5 separate regions of the Homo sapiens genome follow, and regions 2, 3, 4 and 5 are each linked to region 1. The links are contacts of gene promoters, found by promoter capture Hi-C in blood cells and fetal thymus (Javierre and others, 2016). All regions are on one chromosome and are shown on one strand. Each heading gives the region's core, a stretch centred on a gene start or on the middle of the fragment in contact. The rest is flanking DNA. Distances are from core to core; before and after follow the strand shown. Region 1 holds the start of RAI1 (retinoic acid induced 1). Region 2 overlaps TOM1L2 (target of myb1 like 2 membrane trafficking protein). Region 3 overlaps TOM1L2 (target of myb1 like 2 membrane trafficking protein). Region 4 overlaps TOM1L2 (target of myb1 like 2 membrane trafficking protein). Region 5 holds the start of MIR6777 (microRNA 6777).

The links. The method cuts DNA at HindIII sites, captures the fragments that hold promoters and counts their contacts. A CHiCAGO score of 5 or more calls a contact.
Region 2: a contact is called between a fragment that was not itself captured here and the fragment with the promoter of RAI1 in region 1, in 10 of 17 cell types (total CD4 T cells, fetal thymus, total CD8 T cells and 7 more). The highest score is 9.0, in total CD4 T cells.
Region 3: a fragment that was not itself captured here is called in contact with the fragment with the promoter of RAI1 in region 1 in 3 of 17 cell types (fetal thymus, total CD8 T cells and erythroblasts); the score reaches 6.7 in fetal thymus.
Region 4: a fragment that was not itself captured here is called in contact with the fragment with the promoter of RAI1 in region 1 in 14 of 17 cell types (naive CD4 T cells, naive B cells, endothelial precursors and 11 more); the score reaches 8.7 in naive CD4 T cells.
Region 5: a fragment that was not itself captured here is called in contact with the fragment with the promoter of RAI1 in region 1 in 16 of 17 cell types (naive B cells, total CD8 T cells, megakaryocytes and 13 more); the score reaches 21.5 in naive B cells.

The regions. Positions count from the first base shown.
Region 1 is chr17:17,680,143-17,682,744 of GRCh38, reverse strand. It overlaps RAI1 (retinoic acid induced 1), which reads right to left and starts at 1,287. Exons shown (of 6, transcript NM_030665.4): 1 at 952-1,287. RefSeq lists silencers at 1-576, 563-735, 747-826, 887-1,026, 1,057-1,566 and an enhancer at 645-1,246. The HindIII fragment of the contact is 10,976 bases long and covers 1-2,602 here.
Region 2 is chr17:17,915,974-17,918,575 of GRCh38, reverse strand. All of the region lies in intron 1 of TOM1L2 (target of myb1 like 2 membrane trafficking protein), which reads left to right. Among named protein-coding and RNA genes, the nearest start is that of TOM1L2, 55 kb to the left of the region's middle. The HindIII fragment of the contact is 8,009 bases long and covers 1-2,602 here.
Region 3 is chr17:17,891,117-17,893,718 of GRCh38, reverse strand. It overlaps TOM1L2 (target of myb1 like 2 membrane trafficking protein), which reads left to right. Exons shown (of 15, transcript NM_001082968.2): 4 at 1-58. Among named protein-coding and RNA genes, the nearest start is that of SREBF1, 55 kb to the right of the region's middle. The HindIII fragment of the contact is 2,028 bases long and covers 276-2,303 here.
Region 4 is chr17:17,870,607-17,873,208 of GRCh38, reverse strand. All of the region lies in intron 7 of TOM1L2 (target of myb1 like 2 membrane trafficking protein), which reads left to right. Among named protein-coding and RNA genes, the nearest start is that of SREBF1, 35 kb to the right of the region's middle. The HindIII fragment of the contact is 6,030 bases long and covers 1-2,602 here.
Region 5 is chr17:17,811,271-17,813,872 of GRCh38, reverse strand. It overlaps RAI1 (retinoic acid induced 1), which reads right to left. Exons shown (of 6, transcript NM_030665.4): 6 at 2,420-2,602. SREBF1 (sterol regulatory element binding transcription factor 1) reads left to right here. Exons shown (of 19, transcript NM_004176.5): 17 at 104-304; 18 at 394-505; 19 at 1,022-2,539. The coding sequence ends at 1,251. It overlaps MIR6777 (microRNA 6777), which reads left to right and starts at 328; the gene lies at 328-393. It overlaps MIR33B (microRNA 33b), which reads left to right; the gene lies at 1-37. RefSeq lists an enhancer at 558-1,116. The HindIII fragment of the contact is 155 bases long and covers 1,173-1,327 here.

The sequences.
Region 1 (2,602 bases), core at 38-2,537:
GAAAACGGGCGCCCCAGGAAGCTGGGGCCGCGACGGCCTAGGGCCTGGCTGGTGTTTCGCTTCCCCTCCGCCCCACCACGGAGGCCCCTGGCGCGACCAGGCTCCAAATGTCACCCTCGCGTCCTGCCACCCCTTGTCCCCGCCGCACTCGGCCCCCATGTCCTCCTCCCGGGTTCCCTGCCTTCAAGGCGCGTGAGAGGGGGGGCCGGCCTCGAAAAGGGCGGCGGGCTGCGCCGCCGTCTGTGGGGCGCAAGGCTCGCGTGTCCGGGGCCCCCGCCCGTGACGTCATCCCCGAAGGGCCCGTGCCTCCCGGGCCTGGCCGCTACAGAGCTCCCCAGGTCGCGGGGGCCGCTTCCTGCCCGGCCTCGGGGCCTGCGCACAGGCCCCGGGGCCGCTGCCCGGGTAGGGACACCGCAGAGAGCCCGAGCACCCATCTCGCCACGCACGGCCTTCGCCGGCCCTGACTCCCAAGCGATGGCCACGCCGGGCCCGGGTCACGCATGGGGAAGTCAGCTCCCCGTCCCCCACCTCGGACGCACTCACAAAGCTCACCTCCGCCCCCGGCGCCCCGCGAATGCACCCCACGTCCCCACCCCACGCTCCGCAAAGACTCCGCGCCTCGGCGCAAGCAGATCCCTTGCCACACTCGCCCCTCGCGCCCCCATGCCCCCACCCGACCTCAGCTGGCCGCACATCCCCCAGAAGACCCTCAGCCGCGGCGCAGGGCGCCCCCACCCTGCAGCTCCCCAGACGTCCATCCGGTGACCTCGCGCACCCCCCACACCACACAAAGCAAGGACCCCGCGGACCCCACATCTCCACCCAGCGCGCGCGCTCGGCGTCCGAACCCGCCTCGGCTCATCACCCGGCCTAGGATCCCGACGCCTCGCGCCGCCCCCGCCCCGGGGCAGGATACACTGCGCCCCCCGCGCCCCGGCGCTCGCTGCTCACCTCGGCGCCCGCGCTCACTCGGGGGCCTTGGGTCTGGCGCTGCGACTTCGCGGCCCGGAGGCCTGGGTGGCCATGGGGGTCGGGGCGCGGCGGCCCGGCCGGCCCGCGGCCAGGCAGGAAGGAGGGTGGGCCGCGGCGCCCCCTCCTCGCGCCGGCGCTAGGGCCGCGGGCAGGGCGGCCTGCTCGGCTCGCCTCTCGCCCTCGCTGCACTCGCTCTCCCACTCGTCTCTCGGAGCCCAGCCGCGGGCGGGGGCGGCGCCCGGGGACGCGGGGAGCGGGCCTTGGCCGCGCACCCGGCCGGGCCTGCCTGGTGTCCGCGGGTGCCGCGAGGAATGCGATCCCCTCCGCACAGGAAGAGCGGACGAGCGGACGGGCGGGCGGGCGACGCGCGGGGGGAGAAGGAGAGCAAGAGCGCGAGGAAAAAAGTTCCCGGGCGGCCTGGCTGCGCTCGCTCGCGGCCCCGGGCGCCAGGTGGGCCGTGCGCGCCCCGACAGCACCCCCTGGCGGTCCGCGCGCCCCACTGCGCGCCCCCCGCCCGCTGGCCGGCCTGCGGGAGGGGGCCTCTGCGGTGGGATCCCGGTGCGGCCTGGGAGGACACTAGCGCCCTGCGTACAGGAGCTTCCAGCGTCAGGCCAGGCCCCCACCCTCACCCCACCATTAGCCCTCACCTGTGCCCACTTCTTTGCAGTTTGAGAAACATTTTCGATTTCAAAACTCCATTGGCTTCATGTAAACTTCATTTACTGGGCACCTGGCACCTTGCTGAGTCTTGAGGAATCAGCAGAGACAATGCGGTCCCTGCTGTCGTGGAGCTGGCATCCTGGTGGGAAGAGACAGACAGCAAACAAATGCTTAGATACATGACGAAGATAATTTTAGAGCAGTAAGTGCTAGGACGAAAATTAGCAGGTGAAGTGACGGCTAGGGCTCCTTGGCTGGGGGAGAGAGAAGGAGGCCTGTCTGTGCAAAGATCTAAATAGCAAGAGGAACCGCCATGGGTAGAGTCTGGGAAGAGCATTTTGTTCTTTTAGAGGCAGGGTCTTGCTGTGTTGCCCAGGCCGAACTTGAATTCCTGGCCTCAAACAGTCCTCCCACCTCAGCCTTCTGAGTAGCTGGGACTACAGGGGCCTGCCCTCCTGGGAAGAGCATCATTGGCAGAAAGAACATCAAGTGCAAAGGTCCTGAGGCAGGAGAGAACTTGGTGAGTAAGTGGAATTGTGAGGAGGCCGTCAGCAAGGGGACAAGTAATGGGCACATTGAAGTCAGAGCCATATCGGGAGGGCCAGAGCCTGCAGGGCTGCAGAGAGCTCAGTGAGGAATTTGTTTGCAATTCTAGTGCAAGGAAGGTAGCCACTGGCAGACTTTAAACAGAGGCATGTTGAATGAGAGAGTCCTTGCATGAAACTTAAGGTACAGACCTCGGAGCAATTTCATGCCTAGGTCTCTACTTGCCATAGCTCAGGTGGGAGCTCACTGCCACCTGCTTGGGAAGCCTCTCAGCCCCACCCAGGCTCTAGGGTCTGTGGGATATGACCCCATTAACAGCCCCATCGAAGCCTCCCTCATTTGTCCTTTGGTAGGGCAGAGGGGAGCTGGTCAAGGCATCAGAGCTTGTGGGTGACCTGGGACAAGTGAATCCTGCATCTGCAAA
Region 2 (2,602 bases), core at 28-2,527, 240 kb before region 1:
AAGACCTGCAGATCCTGTTATGGTTCCTGTTTTCACCCTCTTGCAATTTTTTATGGAATAAGGACTCAAATGGGTCTTCTCTTCAGCTTTGTTTGCTCTCATGGTGTATGACTGTGTTTTGTAAAAATATATATAGGCGCAACGATGCTGCCTTTCACCACTTCTATTCAACATGGTATTGGAAATTGTAGCCAGAGCAGTTAGGGAAGAAAAAGAAATAAAAGGCATCTCAATGGGAAAGGAAGGAGTAAAATTATCTCTGTTCCCTGATGACATGACTTTACATGTAGAAAACCTTGAAGATACCACAAAACAAAAAAAAAAAGAAAAACTGCTAGAGCGAATAACATAAATTTACCAAAGCTGCAGGATACAAAATCAACATTCAAAAATCAGTTGTGTTTCTGTTAATATACATTAACAATGAACAATCTGAAAAGAAAAGAAAACAATTCCATTTACACTAGCCTCTAAAAAAATAAAATACCTAGGAATTAACCAAGGCAGCAAAAAATTGTGCACCGAAAACTATAAAACGTTGCTGAAAGAAATTAAAGAAGAAAGAAGACATAAATATATGGAAAAACATCCTGTGTTCATAGATGGGAAGACAGTTTTTTTTTAAGGCAGCCTCATTGTGTTGCCCAGGTTGGAGTGCAGTGGCTCAATTACGGCTCAGTGCAGCCTTGACCTCCCGGGCTCAAGTCATCCTCCCACCTTAGCCTCCTGAGTAGATGAAATGACAGGTGTAAGCCACCACTCCTGGCTAATTTTTAAATTTTTTGTAGGGATGGGGTCTCCTTATGTTGCCCAGGCTGTTCTTAAACTCCTGAGCTCAAGCAGTCTTCCCACCTTGGCCTCCCAAAGTGATGGGATTTACAGGCATGAGCTGGCCTGGGAAGCTAATATTTTTAAGATGACAACACTACCCAAAGTGATCTACAGATGTAATGAAATCCCAGTTAAAATTGCAATGAAGCCAGGCATGGTGGCATGCACATGTATTCCCAGCTACTTGGAAGGCTAAGATGGGAGGATTGCTTGAGCCCAGGAGTTTGAGTCCAGACTGGGCAACATAGCAAGACCCTGTCTCTGAAAAAAAAAAAAAAAAAAAAAAAAAAAAAAGACCAATGGTATTTTTTTCAGAAATAGAAAAATCCATCCTAAAATTCACATGAAATCTCAAGGGACCCCAAATAGCCAAACAACCTTTAATTTTTATTTATTTTTATTTATTTTTTTGAGATGGGGTCTTGCTCTGTCGCCCAGGCTGGAGTGCAGTGATGTGATTTTGGCTCATTTTGCAACCTCTGCCTCCCAGGTTCGAGTGATTCTCCTGGCTCAGCCTCCCAAGCACCTGGGACAACAGGTGTGCGCCACCACGCCCAGCTAATTTTTTAAATTTTTTAATTTTTTTAGATGGAGTTTCACTCTGTCTCCCAGGCTGGAGTGCAGTGGCGTGATCTCGGCTCATTGCAACCTCTGCCTGCTGAGTTCAAGTGACTCTCCTGCCTCAGCCTCCGGAGTAGCTGGGACTATAGGTGTGTGCCCCTGCGCCCAGCTAATTTATGTATTTTTAGTAGAGATGGGGTTTCACCATGTTGGTTGGCCAGGATGGTCTCAATCTCTTGACCTCGTGATCCACCTGCCTCGGCCTCCCAAAATGCTGGGATTACAGGTGTGAGCCACTGTGCCTGGCTAATTTTTGTATTTTTAGTAGAGACAGGGTTTCACTGTGTTGACCAGACTGGTGTCAAACTCCTAACCTCATGAGATCCACTCACCTCGGCCTCCCAAAGTATCGGGATTACAGGCGTGAGCCACTGCGCCTGGCCCTAAACAACCTTTAAAAAGAACAAAGTTGGAGGACTCACACTTCCTGATTTCAAAACTTACTTCAAAACTATAATAATCACAACATCATGGTATTGGAATAAGGAAAGACACATGGACCAATGGAATAAAGTAGAGAACTCAGAAATAAACTCTCCCGTATATGGTCAATTGATTTTCAGCAAGGGTGCCAAAAGTATTTAGAGGGGAAAGGACAGTCTTTTCAACAAATGGTGCTGGGAAAACTGAATATCCACATGCAAAAGAGTGAAGTCGGACCATTATCTTATACCATATGCAAAAATGAACCCCAAACAGACCAAAGACCTAAACATAAGAGCGAAGGGAAAACTATAAAAATCTTAAAATAGGCCGGGCGCGGTGATTCATGCCTGTAATCCCAGCACTTTGGGAGGCCAAGGCAGGCAGATCACGAGGTCAGGAGATCGAGACCATCCTGGCTAACACAGTGAAACCCCGTCTCTACTAAAAATACAAAAAATTAGCCTGGCATAGTGGTGGGCGCCTGTAGTCTCAGCTACTCAGGAGGCTGAGGCAGGAGAAGGGCGTGAACCCAGGAGGTAGAGCTTGCAGTGAGCTGAGATCGCGCCACTGCACTCCAGCCTGGGTGACAGCGCAAGACTCCATCTCAAAAAAAAAAAAAAAAATCTTAAAAAGGGGAAATCATGACATTGGATTTAGCAAAGATTTCTGAGATATGGTACCAAAACCACAGGCAACAAAAGAAAAAATAGATAAATGGGACAAT
Region 3 (2,602 bases), core at 40-2,539, 210 kb before region 1:
ATCTCCCAAGAACAACCCTCCCACCATTGTACAGGACAAAGTGCTTGCTCTGATCCAGGTAGGTTGGACCCCTTGCCCAATTTGTTGGAACAGAGTAAGATGAAGTCTCTTATTGATGAGTCCTCATGCTCTCCCACCATTTGGAGGAAAAAAAAAATGGAGACTTCTACATTTAAAATATTTGGTGCAAAATACTTCAAAAAAAATTCTCATCCCACTGGAATGAAATTCTAATTGATGGCTCTCCAGCCAGTTAACAGAGCCTTCCTGAAGCTTTCTGGGTGCCATCCCTCTGCTGCTCACAAAGGCAGGTAGGGTGGCCTCAACAGGCCTCTGAGAAAACTTGGAGTAGGAAGAACCATGTTAGAGCTACGTGCGGGTTTGGTGAGGTCACAGGGCAGGGGCCAACTCTGGGTCAGGCGGAGCAAGGTAAGGGGCTGGGGATGGTGTTAAGGGATGTTTCACTGAGGAGATGACATTTCCATTGGACCCTGAAGAATGATGGGGAGTTTGGTGGAAAAGTCAGTGGGAGAGACTTCACAGGCAGGGAGAATAGCATGTGCAAAGGCCCAGACGCATCAAAGAGAGCAGTTGGCATATTTGGGTTGTATTTGTTATCACTCACTGTGTTACAAATTACCTCAAAACATACCTTCAAACGGAAAATGTTCATTATCTCTTAGTTTCTGTGGGCCAGGAATTCAGGAGCAGGTGGCTGGGCAATTCTGGCTTGGAGTCTCTCTTGAGGTTGCATTGTCTGAAGGCTCGACTATAGCTGGAGGCTCCACTTCCACCATGGTGCACCCACATGGCTGTTGGCAGGAAGCCTCAGTTCCTTGATGACTATTGGCAAGAGACCTGAGTTTATCACCATGTGGACATCAAGATTAGGTCTTGATGACCTAGCCTTGGAAGTCACATACCATTTTTTTCTGTTATATTCTATTTGTTAGAAGGGAGTCACCAGGCCTAGCCTCAAGAGTAGGGGAAATAAACTCCATCTCTTGAAGAAAGGAGGATCAAATAATTTGTGGACATGTTGTAGAGACCACTATGTGGGGAAGGGGGTGTAATGAAGAATGTTGGGGGCAGGGCTTGGGGTGGGGGAGCAGGCAGGAGATGGGACCAGAAGGATGCCCAGAGGCCAGTGGCCATGCATGCTGAGGAGGCATGCTTGGTCCTGTAGGCAGTGGGAAGACATCGAAGGGCTCTGAGCTGGGATGTGTGCAGACCTGGGTTTTAGACAGAGCACGTGGTGACACAGAAGGCACATAAGTCAACAGGCACATCCAGCCTGGGTGATTAGTGCTGTGGCAGAGGCAAGACAAGGGCCTGCAGGAGCCAAGAGGAGAGACAAACCTAGGGCTGGGCGTGGGGCTCCAGCAAGGGCAAAGGGAGGCAACCAGGCAGAGGCAGCGGAGAATGCAGGAAGTGGAGTGCCGGGGCAGGCCGGGCTCTCAGATGGGTCAGGTGTGCAGCTGGAGAGGAGCCTCTGTCCATTCCCTGTGCTCACTTCCCTCTGCCTGAAAGGTCTTTCCCCAGCTTTCAGAGCAGTGACTCCTCCTCCTCATTCACAGGTGCCTCGGAGGCCTCCAGCTGGTTTTAAGCACACACACTCTCTGTCTCACATCATCCTTTTTTGTGGTCTTCAAGACTGGCTTTGCTAACATTTCTTTTGTCTGCCTCATTCTTCGTTCCCTAAGAACCCAGGGACATGCTGTCCCCAGGGTCTAGAGCAGTGTAATGTGTAGAGCGGGTGTTCAGTATTTCTTTATAATGAATGAGTGAATGTAGTTAATTCTGAGGAACTCTGGGAGGCCTTCCCCTGTTTACCCTAGGGTTGTCCCTCGTCCCTGTTCTGCCCACCCAATATCCTTCTGTCTCTCTGTCTCCCTCTGACACACACACACACACACACACACACACACACACACGTGTGCATGCACTTTACCTTCCTCATACACCCCACTCTACCACAGCCCTTCCTTCTGGGGCTGCACTCCCCTACCTCAATACCCCCAGGAATTCATGTTAGGAAAACAAATGGTGGCTTCTTCTCACAAAGCATGTCCTGTGGTAGAGCTTTCTGACCCCGAGGCCTGTCTGCAGGGTGGCGGGCCCAGCAGGGTGGCTAGCCTACCGCATGGCAAGCACAGTTATCACAAGGGGTGTGAACTGCACTGTCCCTGCTGACTGTGTGGGGACCATGGCTGAGGGCAGACACAGCCTTCTTCACTGGCTGTGGCCCACACCTCTACCCTGAGGATGCCTGTCCCCGCACACCCTGCCCTCACCTCCAAGCTTTCCTATCAGGATCACCCCTCCACACTTTCCAGCTCCTCCTAGCTTTTACCCAGTCCTGCTGCTAACCTCAGACAGGTGTACTAATTTATTGTGGGCATGTACCACCTTATCTGTAAAATGGAACTTGGGGTTCTTGCCTGTCTGCTCTCAATCCTGAGCCCATGAGATCAGCCCAAGGTGTGAAGTGGCCAGCACCATGTTCTGAGGCCTCCCCCTGCTGGTCTGGCAGTAGCAGTGTGTGCTGGCCATGGGGACCTGAGCAGAACAGGGCCTTGAGATGCCTCACAAGCTTCTGCCT
Region 4 (2,602 bases), core at 55-2,554, 190 kb before region 1:
AAAATTTTTATGACAAAATACTGGAGTGGGGAAACATCCTGAGGCCTTGAAGGATGAGTAAGAGTTTGTTTGATGGAAAAGGAAATAAGGGACATTGCAGGCAGATGGCCAACTTCTCAGGAGCCCTTAAGCAGTGTGGCAAGTGCCTGAGGCCACCTATATTCTGGAAAGTCTGAGGTGTATTTGAAGATGGCCTGTGGGCCTTAGGTGCTGATACCCCAGTCTTCTGGAGGGTAACTTGGATCTGTTTCCCACAACCTACTGCCACACTCCCCTGACTTGCACGTCCTGTGCCTTGTGATTGGCCTGCAGTTTGCATGAGAAGTGATTGACTTTTTTCCTTCTCCCTCCCCAGCCAAGGACAGCCAGGGCTTGCTGCTAGGCCACAAGCCCCAGAGGCCACACTTTCTTGTAATGGGCCTGTTTGCTGGAGGGGGTGGGTCCTGAGCTGGGACTTGAGATCCTTTTGCTCATCAGAGATTTTCCGCAGACACCTGGAGCGCTGGAGCAAAGAGGAGCTCAGCAGTGCCTGGCTCGGTCCTCATGTGTGTTGGCACGTCCACATCCCTGGGGAGGAGACCCGCACGGTGGCCCGGAACAGTCCATGGCAGAGCAGAGAGGCAGAAGTTTGTTTGACCTCTTTTCTCTGTCCTACTGCCCAGCCTCCCTTTTCCATCCTGCACACTTTGGCCAGGTCTCCCTCTGGTGCTTCTTCCAAAGTATGGGGTAAATCTACTGCCCAAGTGTTGGCCAAGTATCCTTTTTTTCTTTTAGGAAGCAGGGGAGGATGGTCTGTCAAAGTTAACCTAAATCTGTGCTCCTCTGTCAGCCCTGAACAGATGCTCACTGTGTTTTAACAATCTATTAGAAATACTATAATTATTTTAATTGTTCACTTCAGTCCTGGCTGTTGGAATCCTTCACGTGATCTATGTGATTGTTTCTTTCATAAGTTTGGACATTTTTATTTTGTTTTTGTTTGTTTTAATGTTAAGGGCCTGCCTTGGTTTTCTGCATCACTCCTGAGTATGCTTCATTCTGTAATGAGTGTTTCCCCTGTGTTGTTGGTTTTCCTGTGTACAGTAATTGTGACTGGGTTTTGACCTGTGAGTGTCCATTGGCGCCTGTGGCCATTATTGCCTGGCAATCCAGACCACGTCTGGCAGGCCCCAAGGCCCAGGCAGCTTTTTGAGAGCCCCTCTCCTGCCTGGCCTGGGGACATGAGCCATTCACAACAGAGGAGAGTGGGTATTTTGTGGAGTTTTCTCTTTACTGGATAGTAGTGTCCCCTGCAATTAAGATCCCGTATTCACCTCTTATTAATTCTAGCACTTGTCTGTATGTTTATAAGTGCTTACTGCTGGTTCAGTGGGGCCTGGGATGAGTCCTAGAGAGGGAAAATTAGATCCTGGATGAACAAGAATTCCCCATTCTCTGAGTGAAGAGTGCTGAGAAGACTGAGAGTATGTGGATAACTGAGCTGGTAATTTGCGGGGACCAAGAGTTCAGAATACTTTATATTTTATTTTTATTTTTTGGAGACAGGGTCTCACTCTGTTCCCCAGGCTGGAGTGCAGTAGTGCAATCTCTGCTCACTGTAGCCTCTGCCTCCCGGATTCAAGCAATTCTCCCACCTCAGCCTCCTGAATAGCTGGGATTACAGGTGCATGCCACTGTGCCCAATTTATTTTTGTATTTTTTCGTAGAGATGGGGTTTTACCATGTTGGCCAAGCTGGTCTCAAACTCCTGACCTCAAGTGATCCGCCTGCCTCGGCCTCCCAAAGTGCTGGGATTACAGGCATGAGGCACCGCACTTGGCCTCTGAATACTTTTTTTTGAGATGGAGTCTCGCTCTCTCTCCCAGTCTGGAGTGCAGTGGCGTGATCTCGGCTCACTGCAAGCTCCGCCTCCTGGGTTCACGCCATTCTCCTGCCTCAGTCTCCCAAGTAGCTGGGACTACAGGTGCCCGCCACCAACGCCCGGCTAATTTTTTGTGTTTTTAGTAGAGACGGGGTTTCACCGTATTAGCCAGGATGGTCTCGATCTCCTGACCTCGTGATCCATCCGCCTCGGCCTCCAATAGTTTTGGGATTACAGGCGTGAGCCACCACACCTGGCCCCGGCCTCTGAATACTTTAGAGTCATTAATTAATTCTCTCAGAAGTACTTGGGGAGAGCCTCCCATGTGTCATGGGTACCAGGGAAATACCTTCTCTGCCCTCAAGGAGCTTCAGTCTAGACGGGAGGGCAGATAAGAAGCCCAGCCCCTGTGTGAGTGCTGTGTTGCAGGATACCAGGGACATGCAGGGGGGATGCCTTTGATTCCCCACTGGCTGATTGACCACCTTGGTGATGTGTTCAGCAGATGATTACTGGGCTTTTTCACTGTGTGTGGCTCAGTGCGGGGCTTGAGGGCATCCTTGAGTGGATAAATGGTAACACCCCCTCAAGAGTTTATGATGTGGTAGGAAGGAAGACCCTGTAGCCAAGCTAGCAAGATTATGAGACAATATGAGGAACTAAAGAGAGATTGCCGTGTCTCCTGTGAATAAATCAGTTACTTCTACCAGAAACGGTTTCAAAATGAAGTCGTTTTGAGGC
Region 5 (2,602 bases), core at 1-2,500, 130 kb before region 1:
CTCGGCAGTGCAGCCCGGAGCCGGCCCCTGGCACCACGGGCCCCCATCCTGCCCCTCCCAGAGCTGGAGCCCTGGTGACCCCTGCCCTGCCTGCCACCCCCAGGCCGTGCAGCTGTTCCTGTGTGACCTGCTTCTTGTGGTGCGCACCAGCCTGTGGCGGCAGCAGCAGCCCCCGGCCCCGGCCCCAGCAGCCCAGGGCACCAGCAGCAGGCCCCAGGCTTCCGCCCTTGAGCTGCGTGGCTTCCAACGGGACCTGAGCAGCCTGAGGCGGCTGGCACAGAGCTTCCGGCCCGCCATGCGGAGGGTGAGTGCCCGATGGCCCTGTCCTCAAGACGGGGAGTCAGGCAGTGGTGGAGATGGAGAGCCCTGAGCCTCCACTCTCCTGGCCCCCAGGTGTTCCTACATGAGGCCACGGCCCGGCTGATGGCGGGGGCCAGCCCCACACGGACACACCAGCTCCTCGACCGCAGTCTGAGGCGGCGGGCAGGCCCCGGTGGCAAAGGAGGTGAGGGGGCAGCTGCTGACCAGGGATGTGCTGTCTGCTCAGCAGGGAAGGGCGCACATGGGATGTGATACCAAGGGAGGCTGTGTGTGTGTCAGACGGGACAGACAGGCCTGGCGCAGTGGCTCACACCTAGCACTTTGGGAGGCTCAGTTGGGAGGACAGCTTGAGCCCAGGAGTTGGAGGCCGCAGTGAGCCTGAGTGACAGGGAGAGTCCCTGTCTCAAAAAAAAAAAAAGACCAAGCATCTTCTTGATGGTTACCTGATGACAATTCCTTTCACAAGGAATCAGTGGGGTGACTGTCATTTGTGGGATACATGACTGCACGTGCGTGACTCAGTCTGTGGACTTTGTGTGTGGGCTGAGACTAGGGTGGGGAGAGGGGAACCCGCCAGGCCCCCGCCAGGTACCTGTGTGCCAGGTACAGGCGGCTGGTGCCGTGGCTTGTGTGTGGGCAGGGCTCCCGCGGGGGCGTGGCCAGCTTGAGACCCATCCCTGACACATCCTCGTGTGCGCAGGCGCGGTGGCGGAGCTGGAGCCGCGGCCCACGCGGCGGGAGCACGCGGAGGCCTTGCTGCTGGCCTCCTGCTACCTGCCCCCCGGCTTCCTGTCGGCGCCCGGGCAGCGCGTGGGCATGCTGGCTGAGGCGGCGCGCACACTCGAGAAGCTTGGCGATCGCCGGCTGCTGCACGACTGTCAGCAGATGCTCATGCGCCTGGGCGGTGGGACCACTGTCACTTCCAGCTAGACCCCGTGTCCCCGGCCTCAGCACCCCTGTCTCTAGCCACTTTGGTCCCGTGCAGCTTCTGTCCTGCGTCGAAGCTTTGAAGGCCGAAGGCAGTGCAAGAGACTCTGGCCTCCACAGTTCGACCTGCGGCTGCTGTGTGCCTTCGCGGTGGAAGGCCCGAGGGGCGCGATCTTGACCCTAAGACCGGCGGCCATGATGGTGCTGACCTCTGGTGGCCGATCGGGGCACTGCAGGGGCCGAGCCATTTTGGGGGGCCCCCCTCCTTGCTCTGCAGGCACCTTAGTGGCTTTTTTCCTCCTGTGTACAGGGAAGAGAGGGGTACATTTCCCTGTGCTGACGGAAGCCAACTTGGCTTTCCCGGACTGCAAGCAGGGCTCTGCCCCAGAGGCCTCTCTCTCCGTCGTGGGAGAGAGACGTGTACATAGTGTAGGTCAGCGTGCTTAGCCTCCTGACCTGAGGCTCCTGTGCTACTTTGCCTTTTGCAAACTTTATTTTCATAGATTGAGAAGTTTTGTACAGAGAATTAAAAATGAAATTATTTATAATCTGGGTTTTGTGTCTTCAGCTGATGGATGTGCTGACTAGTGAGAGTGCTTGGGCCCTCCCCCAGCACCTAGGGAAAGGCTTCCCCTCCCCCTCCGGCCACAAGGTACACAACTTTTAACTTAGCTCTTCCCGATGTTTGTTTGTTAGTGGGAGGAGTGGGGAGGGCTGGCTGTATGGCCTCCAGCCTACCTGTTCCCCCTGCTCCCAGGGCACATGGTTGGGCTGTGTCAACCCTTAGGGCCTCCATGGGGTCAGTTGTCCCTTCTCACCTCCCAGCTCTGTCCCCATCAGGTCCCTGGGTGGCACGGGAGGATGGACTGACTTCCAGGACCTGTTGTGTGACAGGAGCTACAGCTTGGGTCTCCCTGCAAGAAGTCTGGCACGTCTCACCTCCCCCATCCCGGCCCCTGGTCATCTCACAGCAAAGAAGCCTCCTCCCTCCCGACCTGCCGCCACACTGGAGAGGGGGCACAGGGGCGGGGGAGGTTTCCTGTTCTGTGAAAGGCCGACTCCCTGACTCCATTCATGCCCCCCCCCCCAGCCCCTCCCTTCATTCCCATTCCCCAACCTAAAGCCTGGCCCGGCTCCCAGCTGAATCTGGTCGGAATCCACGGGCTGCAGATTTTCCAAAACAATCGTTGTATCTTTATTGACTTTTTTTTTTTTTTTTTTCTGAATGCAATGACTGTTTTTTACTCTTAAGGAAAATAAACATCTTTTAGAAACAGCTCGATACACACAATCTTCAGTGTGAAGCAATATACTAATAAGAACACTAGTCGTCTTAACATTTACAGTCTTCATA